3 separate regions of the Homo sapiens genome follow, and all the other regions are linked to region 1. Evidence: promoter capture Hi-C in human tissues and cell types (Jung and others, 2019). All regions are on one chromosome and are shown on one strand. The core of a region is centred on a gene start or on the middle of the fragment in contact, and the rest is flanking DNA. Distances in the headings are between cores, read along the strand shown. Region 1 holds the start of IRF5 (interferon regulatory factor 5). Region 2 overlaps SMO (smoothened, frizzled class receptor). Region 3 overlaps AHCYL2 (adenosylhomocysteinase like 2).

Region 1 (4,073 bases), core at 1,173-3,672:
AGAGACGAGGAAATGAGATTTGAGGTCCTACTTAAGGCCACTTGGCTGGAATACAGCAAAGCCAGGTGCAAGCCCCTTCTCTGCACGCAGCCCGTGCTGCTTCTTGAGGTTCAGAGGCTCTAAGGAAGGGGCCTCACCTGAGCAAGATGGACAGTGGGAAGGGGGCAGAGGGCAGAATTCTAGGGTCTCACGGTCCCTCAGAATGGGTGAGGAGTATTTGATAACAAAAGAAGGCTCTTCTTAGCTATTGCTCCAGATACGACCAGCATAGAATATTTTTCTATTAAGCATAACTGACCTCCAGTGAAAAAGGTTCCCATTTTGTGGGGAGCCACTTTTGAAATAGCAATTTCATTTTATTATTATTATTTTGAGATAAGATCTCACTTCTACGCCCAGGCTGGAGTGCGGTGGTGTGCCTCCTGGGTTCAAGCAATTCTCCCACCTCAGCCTCCCAAGTAGGTGGAACTATAGGTGTGTGTCACCACGCCAGGCTAATTTTTGTATTTTTTGTAGAGACAAGGTTTTGCCATATTGCCCAGGCTGGTCTCGAACTCTTGGACTCAAGTGATCTGCCTGCCTTAGCCTCTCAAAGTGTTGGGATTACAAATGTGAGCCACCGTGCCTGGCCTAGCAATTTCATTTTTAAAGAAAGAAATATAAAACGATCTACCCATTCACATTTTCCCCATCCATACTTTAAATTTTAAAAATATGAAATAATGAAATACTCAGCAGATACAAATAATAAAATACTTATATATAATGATATTTCGACTTCATATTAGGGCTTCAAAGGTCAGGAAAGAGGGAGAGATACAGAAGAGAAAAAAAAAAAACGTTAACACATGAGTGTCTTTTTTTAACTTGTTAAAGGTAAAGTTCAACCCAGGAGAAGGGAGGGGAGGGAAGGTCAAAGTTCTGATTCATCAACAAATACTACTTTATTTGTTAAAAATACAAGGCTCTGCTTGGCGCAGTGGCTCCCGCCTGTAATCCCAGCACTTTGGGAGGCCAAGGCGGGTGGATCGCCTGAGGTCAGGAGCTCGAGACCAGCCTGGCCAACATGGTGAAACCCCGTCTCTACTTGGGAGGCTGAGGCAGGAGAATCGCTTGAACTGGGGAGGCAGAGGTTGCAGTGAGCTGAGATCGCACTGCTGCACTCCAGCCCGGGTGACAGAGCAAGACTCCATATCAAAAAATAAAATAAAATAAAATGAACAATGAAAAGACAGGAGGGAGGTTCCTGAGTAAGCTGATTCGAGTGGAAATCAGACATCAAAATTGAAACCCGCTGAATTTTCCAAAAAGCCAGATGCTCATAGAACTGAAGCTTGAGACACTTACATCAGTACACCTGCTGCCTGTTGACCAATTCCTCTTCCTTGTCCCTCCTGTTTTCCTTCCCTGCTATATAAGCCCCTAACTTTAGTCAAGGGGAGGGATGGATTGGAGGTTTGTCTCCCCTCTCAACAGCTCACTGGCTGATGTCACCGGAATAAAGTCTTCCCTGGCAATACTCGCTGTCTCAGTGATAGGCTTTCTGTGCGGTGAGCAGCCAGACCTGGACCAAACCCCTGGCAATCCATAACAAAATCATAAGCAAAATCAACCAGGAAGCTATTTGCACCCTGGAACCCCACCTGGGAGGGGAAGTCAAGGCAGACTTTCCAGAGAAGGCGATGCTGAAAATTTCAGAAACAGAAATTTTGAAGAGCAAGAGTTACCAAGCGAAGAACATTCCATGAGAAGGAACAGGAGGTGTGTGAAGGTGGAGGTTCTGGGGTGAGGTTCTTTATGGAATCGAAAACGGTTCAGAACCACAGGTCGACGGTCAAGGTAGTAGTGAGAGGAGGTGGGACAGGCGACCACGCCGCTGCCCCTGGGATGACTGGAAGGCGACTTAGGGGAGCTGGGGCGAGACAGGTGCAGGGTTTGAGGATGAGAAAGGCACAGAGTGACTAGAGGATTCCCGCCTGCAAGCACATCTGGAAGGGGTGTCTGGATCCTGGGGGCAGCGACTGTGTTCTAGGGCGAGAGCCACCCTCGCCAGGGGTGTAGGCAGGCGAGAGGAGGGCCTGGAGCTGTGGGTCGGCCACACTGCGCCCTCATTTGTGTGCAGCCCCGGAGGACCAGAGTGGGGAAGCACCCCACCCTCTCCCAGGGCCCAACTGAGCACTGCAGCGGGAGGTACGGGGTTGTCAAATGACAGTTTTGCCATTCCAGATTGCCAAAAGAGCCAGTGGCCAGTCTAGGGCACCGCGCCGTCTGGCATCTCCCTGGAGGCCCTGGGCCTGGCCCGAGGCTCAGCCCGGATCTGCAGTTGCCAGGTCAGTGCGGGGCCCGGAGTGGATTCGCGGGGCGGGGCGGGGCACTGCCCGCGCCCGGAGCTCAGCAGCAGCTGCCCAGGGGCGGGGGCGGCAAGACGCGGAAGTGCCCGGCAGGTTGGCGGACCGGCGGGAGGCGCAGCCTGGGCAGAGCTCAGCTTGGTCCCGCCGCCCGGCCGGTGCTCCCTGGCGCAGCCACGCAGGCGCACCGCAGACAGGTGGGTCCCGGCCGCCGCGCTCTCCTCTCTGCGTCCGCGCCCGGCGCGCCCCGAGGGTGGCGGGAGCGGTGCCGGCTACTGCCCCCAAGTCTAGGCCTAGACTGGGCCCCGCGCCCCCCAGGCACCTGCGGGCGGCGGGATGAAGACTGGAGTAGGGCGGGGTCCGCGTCCAGCTGCGCCTGGAAAGCGAGCTCGGGTGGGTGCCTACAGCAGGGTGCGCCCGGCCGGCCTGGGACTTCCAAAGCGCCTCCCACGCCCCGATCGGTTTGGGGTGCTGGCGCCCGGGGAGCCCAGTGACCCAGGCGGCGGAGTGGGCAGCGCTGCGGGGGGCGCCGGCTCTGCTGCTCTCCCTCCCCCTCGCCATCGCCCAGAATGGGGGTTCCCGGGAGCCCCGCTGGAGGCTGGCTTGGACCACAGAGGAGCGAGGCCCGATCCTTACTTTCGATGCACTCGCCCTTGCTCTTACCGGGCCACCCTCACCCTTTCGGAAAAGAGGTTGAGGTTAAAGCGTTCATCCCCCGGGATCTTCAGGCCAATGGCAGGAACTGTGCAAGAGTTTGGGGGAAGATGGTGTCAGGTAGAGGCTGCGTCCCTGGGCTCGCGGCCGGGAATGGCAGACTCTCGTCCCCCGAGCAGCGGAAAAGGATGGGGCGCAATAGTTCCTGGGCTGGTTTCCTCAGGTCCTGTCCCAGAACTTAAGAAGGCAACAATGAAGAGGCTAAACGTGGAGGAAAAGTGAGGCTAGCATGGCCGGGATGCGTGGGGAGATGGTTGTCTCCGGACCCCGGGAGGGGCGGGAGCGGGTACCTGGGAGCAGAGGCTGGAGTGGGGGACTTTCCCAGCCTCGCGGCCACGCTGAACACAGCAGGGCGAGGACCGGGGTGCTGCTCCTCCAGCAGCAGGAGGAGAGGTCCAGAGGCCGACTCTGGAGGTGGGGGTGGCTCCGCGGGCTGGCCCAGGGGGTGTGCCCCAGCGGAGCACGCGGGAGGGGTGGGGGCGGAGGGGAGGGGGGAGCAGGGGCGGAGGACTGGGCTGGGCCTGGGCTCCTCGAGGGCCCAGAATGGGGATAAGTGACCAGAACCAGAGAGGGCTCGGCTGTATCGATGTAGGAAACTGTAGCCCCTCAGGAGGCCCTCTGGCAAGACCTCCCCTTCCTGCCCCCACCCCCAGTAGTTATGGGGCCTGGGGTGCTGGGGCTGAGGGGTTCCAAGAGTCAAGGGAAGCACTGGGAAATCACCCCTTTTTATCTAAAGGCCCTACTTTGGGGTTTTTCCCCTGTACCCTGGTCTTCCCCTACCCTGACCCTGGGAGGAAGCTGAAAGAAGCTTCTTTCTGGGCACCTTTTGCCCCAGAGCCTCAGCCTGTCTGGACCAGGTGGGCAGCAGGGCCCAGGGTGTGGGCAGCTGACCCGGAGGGGTGGGATTTGGGGGTCAGGGCCTGTACAGGGAACCCCTTGTCCTCTCCCTGAGCTGGGTGTGGGTTTGCAAGGAGACATGTGACCCAGACCAACCCTGGGAGCAGCAGGGCG
Region 2 (4,236 bases), core at 673-3,172, 270 kb after region 1:
CTGTTGCCCAGGCTGGAGTGCAGTGGCACAATCTTGGCTCACTGCAACCTTCGCCTCCTGGGTTCAAGTGATTCTCCTGCCTCACCCTCCCCCATAGCTAAAATTACAGGCATGCACCACCACGTCTGGCTAATTTTTGTATTTTTAGTAGAGACGGGGTTTCACCATGTTAGCCAGGCTGGTCTTGAACTCCTGACCTAAAGTGATCCACCACCTCAGCCTCCCAAAGTGCGGAGATTACAGGCATGAGCCACAGTGCCCAGCCTCACAGCTTGTTAGGTGGAGTTGGGTCAGGATCCAGCCCCAGTCAGCTCCTGGCCGGTGCACTTGTGTGATGAACACCCTGAGTAACCTACTCTGCCCACTTGGACCAACCTAGGTCGTTTGGTTATCTGTGTGCACATTAATTCGATATGTACTGTCAATCTTCTGGAGCTTGGTTTTCATCTTCTTTCTGTCCCCGGCACACACAGCTCTCACAGCATGCGTGGAATTAGTGGTCCCTAACTTTCCTGTCTCATGCTGCCATCCCATAGTAAGCCTCAGCATCTATTTAGCTCATTGTTGTTGGGTTTTCTTTGTAAACCTCAGTTTCCTCACCCTGAACTGCCAGCCTTCTGTTCAGTCACCTCTTTCCCCTCTTTTTGGCATAGTGTCTGGCCCTCTGATTTGTGCTTCGTTATCATGCTGTCCTAGTATGGTAATCACTAGCCACATGTGTTGAACTAGTCCAGCCTGGGTGCGGCGGCTCACTCCTGTAATCCCAGTACTTTGGGAGGCTGAGACGGACGGATCACTTGAGCTCAGAGTTCGAGACCAGCCTGAACAACATAGTGAAACCCCATCTCTACAAAAAATACAAAAGTTGCCTGGGCAGGGTGGCACATGCCTGTGGTCCTAGCTATGTGAGAGGCTGAGGTGGGAGGCTTGCTTGAGCCCAGGAGGTTGAGGCTGCAGTGAGCCATGATCTTGCCACTGCACTCCAGCCTGAGTGACAGAGTGAGACCCTGTCTCCAAAGAAAACAAGACAACAACAAAAAGAAACAAGTCCAAATTGAGATGTGTTGTAAAATGTGAAATACACACTGTATTAAAAAAAAAACTTAGTGGGAAAAAAATGTAAAATATCTCATTAATAATTTGTTACATGGATTACATGTTGAAATGATTTTATTTTGAATATATTAGGTTTGTAAAATATATTGATATTAGTTTTGCTTGTTTCTTTTAACTTTTTTTAAGTGGCCACTAGAAATTTGCCATATGTATGTGGCTCACATATTTCTATGGGAAGGCCGGCATGGTGGCTCACACCTGTAATCCCAGCACTTTGGGAGGCCGAGGTGGGCAGATCACCTGAGTTCAGGAGTTCAAGACCATCCTGGCCAACATGGTGAAACCCCATCTTTACAAAAATACAAAAATTAGCCGGCGTGATGGTAGGTGCCTGTGATCCCAGCTGCTTGGGAGGCTGAGGCAGGAGAATTGCTTGAACCTGGGAGGCGGAGTTTACAATGAGCCGAGATCACGCCATTGCACTCCAGCCTGGGCGACAGGGTTCCATCTCAAAAAAAAAATTATATGGATAGCGCTGTTCTTGAGTCTGTTTTATGTCTTTCCCATCAGAACAGCTTTGATCTGCCCCCTTCTTCAGGGGCAGCTGGGCCACGACCGAGGCTCCCTCTTCTCAAGTGTCTGTCTAGGCTCTGCCCTGGTCTTCTCACCATTTCTCCAGTGTCTCTAGCTCCCCAGGTTTTCATTTAGCACAGGGGTAATCAGACTTGGGACTCCAGAGCCTTAGGACCCTCCTCCCACTCACCCATCCTTCCCAGCAGGGCAGCCTCACCCCTGCTAATGTCTGAGGTCCCCCTTCTGTTCAGGAGTCATGACTCTGTTCTCCATCAAGAGCAACCACCCCGGGCTGCTGAGTGAGAAGGCTGCCAGCAAGATCAACGAGACCATGCTGCGCCTGGGTGAGTGGCCCCGGGGGACTTCGGTCTGAGGTCCTGGCCAGCCCAACACTGCACCCTCCTGGGGCTATGCGACCGGCAGGATGCAGTAAGTCAGTGGGACAAGTTAGCCATAGGGACAAGGACAAGGGGTGTGTGTAGGTGGTAGTGGTAGTGGCAGCTCAAAAGAAGGGGGTCTACTCGGGGGGAAGAATTCAGTCAAGTTCATGCCGGGACTGGTTCCTCCTGCCCACTACGTCCCACGTGGTCCCTCCCACAGTTGCTTCAAGTGCCCTTCTTATTTTATTTTAGAGAAAGCAGTTCTTGGACTGAGCCCAGCATGAGTTCACCCCAGCCCCAGCTGGGTGAACTTTGAGGCCCAGTGGGGCAGACTCTCTCCTCCCCACTGCTGCTGCGGGACTGGGCTTGGTAACGTCCTGTCCTGCCCCTGTCCTCCACAGGCATTTTTGGCTTCCTGGCCTTTGGCTTTGTGCTCATTACCTTCAGCTGCCACTTCTACGACTTCTTCAACCAGGCTGAGTGGGAGCGCAGCTTCCGGGACTATGTGCTGTGAGTGAGGGGCATGGAGGCGGCAGTGCTGGGAGCTGGAGCCAAGGCCATAAAGACACCCACCTCCACCCACCGGGCAGCAGGGATTTGCCAGGTCCCTGCTGCAGACAGCAGATTCAATGGATGGTGTCTGGGTGCATAAGGCATCAGTCTCCGTAGTTTCTCAAACGTGGCAAACAACCTTCGCATCCCTTCTCACCTCTGCCCTTCCCTCTCCACCCCCTTGGTTGCCCAGCTGGTGCATGTGTGACTGTTAAGCAGCCAGTTCAGCTTCGTCTTCTCTGACTGACACTAAGTTGCCCTCTAATTCTGTGTGCTCTCCTGCAGAGCCTGCTTTAGATCCTGGCACAGGACTAGTTACCTCTCTGTGATAGGTTAATGACCTGCTAATGTTGGCTAGTTTTTGCCTGTGCTTTTTTGTGTCATAATGAGGATGGATTGGAGAGAGTAAGACATTGCTACTGCTGAGAGAAGCGCAGTACCCACTGTTACAAGGACAGTCGCTAAAATGGATGCTAGTCCAAGCCCTGACTGCTTCAGGCTCTTCCGTAAAGGTTCCGGCTTCCAGTCTGGGATGCTTTAAACCACAGTGATGCCTGAGTCTCTGCCCCAGAGATTCAATTTAATTGTCTAGGGTGGGTCCCAGGCATCAGTAGCTATTAAAAGCTCCCCAGTTGATTCTAATGAGCACCCAGGGTTGAGATCAGTGCTGTGGAGCTTAGCCCTTTCTAAAGTTTTTGGATTGATTGTCTGAGTCTACCCAGTAGACTCAGAAAACCCCACCTGTAGTCCCAGCTACTTGGGAGGCTGAAGCAGGAGATTGCCTGAGCCCAGGAGTTGGAAGCTGCAGTGGGTTGTGATCACGCCACCGCACTCTAGCCTGGGTGACAGAGCAAGATCCTATCTCAAAAAAAGAGAGAGGAAAAGAAAGGAAAGCCTCACCTGTCTACGTTCCCTCACTGTAGATGTCAGGCCAATGTGACCATCGGGCTGCCCACCAAGCAGCCCATCCCTGACTGTGAGATCAAGAATCGCCCGAGCCTTCTGGTGGAGAAGATCAACCTGTTTGCCATGTTTGGAACTGGCATCGCCATGAGCACCTGGGTCTGGACCAAGGCCACGCTGCTCATCTGGAGGCGTACCTGGTGCAGGTGGGCATGGCAGCCAGCCCCTCCTGCCCTGCCCGCCTCACCCTCAGCCTTGGGACCCCATCTTTAGGTTTTGTCGGGTCCTGCCTCTAGCACAGCCTTGGTCAGTGGTTCACCGCTGCCCCCTGGTGGCACCTTCTGTCCTTGGGTGGCCTGATGCCTGGGCCTGGGCCTGGGCCAAGGGCAGAGCCAGCTGCCATCACCTTTTAAGAGCGGAGTGATTGGAGGGCTGGGCACACAGGAGCTCTGCATTCTGGCCCCACTTCTTTGCAGAGAAGGCCTCTACTCCTGAGTCCTTGAAGGACTTGAGGCCCTTGGGAGCCTCCTTCTCTGGAAAGAATGGCATCGCTGGCCCTTCCCAAGATTTGATGGGAAGTGGCAGCTTCTTCACGCTCCTTCCCTATCCCTTCTGCTCTCAGGTTGACTGGGCAGAGTGACGATGAGCCAAAGCGGATCAAGAAGAGCAAGATGATTGCCAAGGCCTTCTCTAAGCGGCACGAGCTCCTGCAGAACCCAGGCCAGGAGCTGTCCTTCAGCATGCACACTGTGTCCCACGACGGGCCCGTGGG
Region 3 (4,008 bases), core at 1,470-3,969, 410 kb after region 1:
GATTATCATGAGGATTAAATGAGTCATGTATATAATCTAATGCATTGTCTGGCATGTAGTTAAGTATATAATACTTACTAAATATGATACTTACTAGCCGTTGTTTGTCCCTTCCCCTCCAGTTCCATAATTGCTGTTTGGAGGGTTCACAGGATTTATTTTCTTCACCTAGGCCAAGGATTGTTAACCTGAATGGATCAATGAACCTTTGAAATTGCAAATTTTGTATAAGCATATGCTTATTCCAGACTTTCCAGATTCTAGAGAGAAGAGGGTCTGTGACTTTAATCAGATTTGCTAAGGAAGGGAAGGTCCCATGGCCCTAAAAAGTTAAAACACACTAACCTAAGCTGTTTTGCTATTTTATGTTTCTTTCCACCAGAAAATACTCTGCTGTCAGATCGTTTTCTCTTTACAGCTAGGAAGAGACTCTGGCTGACTTTTATTCCTCACAACTTTTATCTTTTCTAAATATATCATGTCTAGGCAAGTAATTTAAACTTTCTAGGTCTCAACTTCTTAACTGTAAAAAGAAGTGATTGATCTGGACAAATTCAAAGGTTCCCTTCATCTTGAAAATGTTTTGATTCTATCTAGGTTTACTCTGTATGGGCTTTAAAAATTAGAAATATTGTCATAAACCAAGAAAAACCCTTATGCTAAGAATAATCTTTAGGTAGAGACCTAAATCTTGACTGAGGGATAAAATTGGAGGTTTGTATATACAAATATAAGAACTTATGTCAGGCCGGGCATGGTGGCTTATGTCTGTAATCCCAGCACTTGGGAAGGCTGAGGCGAGAGAATCACCTGAGGTCAGTTCGAGACTAGCCTGGCCAACATGGTGAAACCCCATCTCTACCAAAAAAAAAAAAAAAAAAAACCCACAAAAATTAGCCAGGCGTGGTGGCACATGCCTGTAATCCCAGCTACTCAGGAGGCTGAGTGAGGCAGGAGAATTGCTTGAACCCGGGAAGCGGAGGTTGTAGTGAGCTGAGATGGCATCATTGCATTCCAGCCTGGGCAACAATGCAAGACTCTGTTTCAAAAAAAAAAAAAAAAAAAAAGCGTATGCCAACCTGATTCCATATAGAACAGCCATGGTTTATTTTCACATTAGCAATAAAGCTACCTTACTAAAGAGATAGGGCTATGTAAGATGCCCTGGTAGTCCTGTTGACATCTCTGTAAAACCTCTCCCATCTCAAGGTCTTTTCTCTGCTTTGTTTTGGGAAAAGGGGAGAATAGTAGAACCAGTGAGTTGTAGTTCTACACTAATAAAAAATGCCTCTATCAATATTGATCATTATCTGTTACTTGATTGAAGTCCAGATCATAGTTCTTATTTATGAAAAACCAATCTGCATACTTTAACTCAGATGTACATTTAGTTATTCATATTATTGTACAACTCAATTACTCAGAAACATTTGTCCCAAATTTATACTGTGGTCATTTTTGCCTATTGCTTCAAAAGGCTTTATAGAAGATGGGATTCTTGACTTACAAGGCAGTTCAGGGTTAATCCATTCAACAAGCATGTGAAGATAAGGGCATTTCAGATAAAGCATGCAGAGGTACCTGGATTCAGGTTTTAGCTCTGTGTCTTATGAGCTCTGATCTTGGGTCAGTCACTTATCCTGTCCATACTTGTTTCCTCAGTTGTGAAATGGTGATAATAAAAGCACCTACTGTATAGCATTATAAGGATTAAATGAGATAATACATGCCAAAGCAACATAGTATTTGGAATGTAGAAAGCATTCAATAAATGTAGTCTTTTTTTTTTTTTTTGGAGATGGAGTCTCACTTTTGTCACATGGGCTGGAGTGCAATGGCGTGGTCTCAGCTTACTGCAACCTCTGCCTCCCGGGTTCAAGGGATTCTTTCACCTCAGCCTCTCAAGTGGCTGGGACTACAGGTGCATTGTGCCACCATACCTGACTAATTTTTGTATTTTTAGTAGAGACAGGGTTTCACTATGTTGGCCAGGCTGGTCTCGAACTCCTGACCTTGTGATCCTCCTGCCTCGGCCTTCCAAAGTGCTGGGATTACAGGTGTGAGCCATTGCACCCAGCCTCCTTCATTTTCTTTTTCTTTCTTTCTTTCTTTTTTTTTTTTTTTTTATCTTTTAGGGATGGAGTTTTGCTCTGTTACTCAGGCTCTCAGCTCACTGCAATCTCTGTATCCCAGGTTCAAGTGCTTCTCCTGCCTCAGCTTCCTGAGTAGCTGGGATTAGAGGCTCCCGCCATGATGCCCCGCTAATTTTTGTATATTTAGTAGAGACAGGGTTTCACCATGTTGACCAGGCTGGTCTTGAACTTCTGACCTCAGGTGATCCACCCTCCTCGGCCTCCCAAAGTGCTGGGATTACAGGCGTGAGCCACCGCGCCCGGCCCCGGCCTAATTTCTTTTTTAAAAGCAAACAATTCATCCTTAAGTATTAGAAATAGCATAAATTTTATTTTATTCTAGAATATTATTAAATTCTAAAATAGCAGTTTTAAATAATTTTAAATTTATGAAAGTTGAAAAAAGTTTTGAATTTTATTTTAAAACAAGTCAAAGATATATACTTATTTTTGGTGTTTCCGCATAGGCATAAGGAACACTTTTGGATTTTAAAAATAACAACTTATTGGATGATAGTGAAGTTACAGAGATTATAGTAGGTATACCTGGAGATACCAGCAGGAACATAGTAGAAATAATAAGCCAAAAACACTTTTATTTATACTGTAACCAATCTCCTTGGAAAACTTTAGAAAACACAAAAATATACAAGCATACATTCCATTTATTCAGCCTGATGACGTCATCACACATACAGCCTCTGGAAAACCCCACTCTACACTCAAGAGAGAATGAAAAGTGAAAAAGACAAAGGACATTTTAGTATTATGAAAATGCTTTTGACCTCAAAAGCCCCTGAATCAAAGGGAAAGGTGAAAAGGAAATCGCCATTGGCAATGGTAGAGGCTATGGAAGATTGGGTCTTGCAAAATTTATTAGAAGACGTTTCTGAAGAGAAGACCTTCTGAGGCACCCCTTTGCAGGTAAAAAAACATTCATGTCCTCTTTCTCCACAAAGCTTTTGTTAATCACCAGACCTCACAGTGGTCTCGCAGCACCTCTTAAAGCAGTGGTTCTCAAAATGTGGTCCATGGACTCCCAGGAGTCCCTGATACTGTTTTTCAAGGTCTGTGAGGTCAGAGCTGTTTTCATAATAATACTAAGGTGTTTGCCTTTTCTATGGTGTTGACATTTTGCACTAATGGTATATAAGCAATGATAGGTAAGTAATTAATAACCATTAGTTATTGTATTTGTCATTGGTGTGTACTTGCAGATAACATCTTTCTTCCAGTTTCACTTAGAATGTTTTTGATGAAGCCATTAAAATGATTAGTTTTATTAAATATCAATCCTGGAGTATAATTTTTTTTTTAATGAACTGGGAAGTACACATAAAGTACTTCGGCTGCATGCTGAAATATAATGGTTGTCTTGAGGGAAAGCATTCCTGATTGTTTGAGTTGCAAACTGCACTAGGCTCCTTTTTTTAATCATGTATCTCTTTTACTTTACAGAGAGACCATGGTTATTCAGGTTTGGGCATCTGGCAGATATTTTCTTGAAAATGAACGAAGTGAGCCTGTCTCAAGGAAACTGACAGTATTTGTTGTCAATGATAAAATTCAAGCTTTCAAATGGAAATTAGAATTTTGGAAAACCCAAACCCGCCACCATGAGCTTGACAGCTTCCAGTCAAGCTGTCCCCGGTGTAGACCTCGTATTTGAGCTCCAGACTCTCACTCTACCTATCTATATATATACTGTGTCCACATAAATGTTTCATATTCTAAATTTAACATGTCCACAATGGAATTTTTTATTTCTCCCACAAAACTTTCTCTCTTTCACCCTGCCCCAATTTTTCTCATCTTAGTAAATCACCTCCAACCCAGTTGTTCAAACTAGAATTGAAGTCATTATTTCTTTTTCCTC

Evidence for each region. The method cuts DNA at HindIII sites, captures the fragments that hold promoters and counts their contacts. A contact is called where the count stands out against the background at its distance.
Region 2: a contact is called between a fragment that was not itself captured here and the fragment with the promoter of IRF5 in region 1, in 1 of the 25 tissues and cell types used here (lymphoblastoid cells).
Region 3: a fragment that was not itself captured here is called in contact with the fragment with the promoter of IRF5 in region 1 in 1 of the 25 tissues and cell types used here (mesenchymal stem cells).

What each region holds. Positions count from the first base shown.
Region 1 is chr7:128,935,505-128,939,577 of GRCh38, forward strand. It overlaps IRF5 (interferon regulatory factor 5), which reads left to right and starts at 2,423. Exons shown (of 9, transcript NM_001098629.3): 1 at 2,423-2,545. RefSeq lists enhancers at 751-1,045, 2,713-3,296, 3,330-3,399 and a silencer at 2,290-3,049. The HindIII fragment of the contact is 4,364 bases long and covers 1-2,601 here.
Region 2 is chr7:129,206,879-129,211,114 of GRCh38, forward strand. It overlaps SMO (smoothened, frizzled class receptor), which reads left to right. Exons shown (of 12, transcript NM_005631.5): 7 at 1,881-1,973; 8 at 2,411-2,519; 9 at 3,485-3,670; 10 at 4,087-4,235. Among named protein-coding and RNA genes, the nearest start is that of AHCYL2, 16 kb to the right of the region's middle. The HindIII fragment of the contact is 7,558 bases long and covers 1-4,236 here.
Region 3 is chr7:129,348,606-129,352,613 of GRCh38, forward strand. All of the region lies in intron 1 of AHCYL2 (adenosylhomocysteinase like 2), which reads left to right. It overlaps LOC105375500 (a long non-coding RNA gene), which reads left to right. Exons shown (of 2, transcript XR_927962.3): 1 at 1-3,056; 2 at 3,591-3,872. Among named protein-coding and RNA genes, the nearest start is that of STRIP2, 84 kb to the right of the region's middle. The HindIII fragment of the contact is 3,062 bases long and covers 1,189-4,008 here.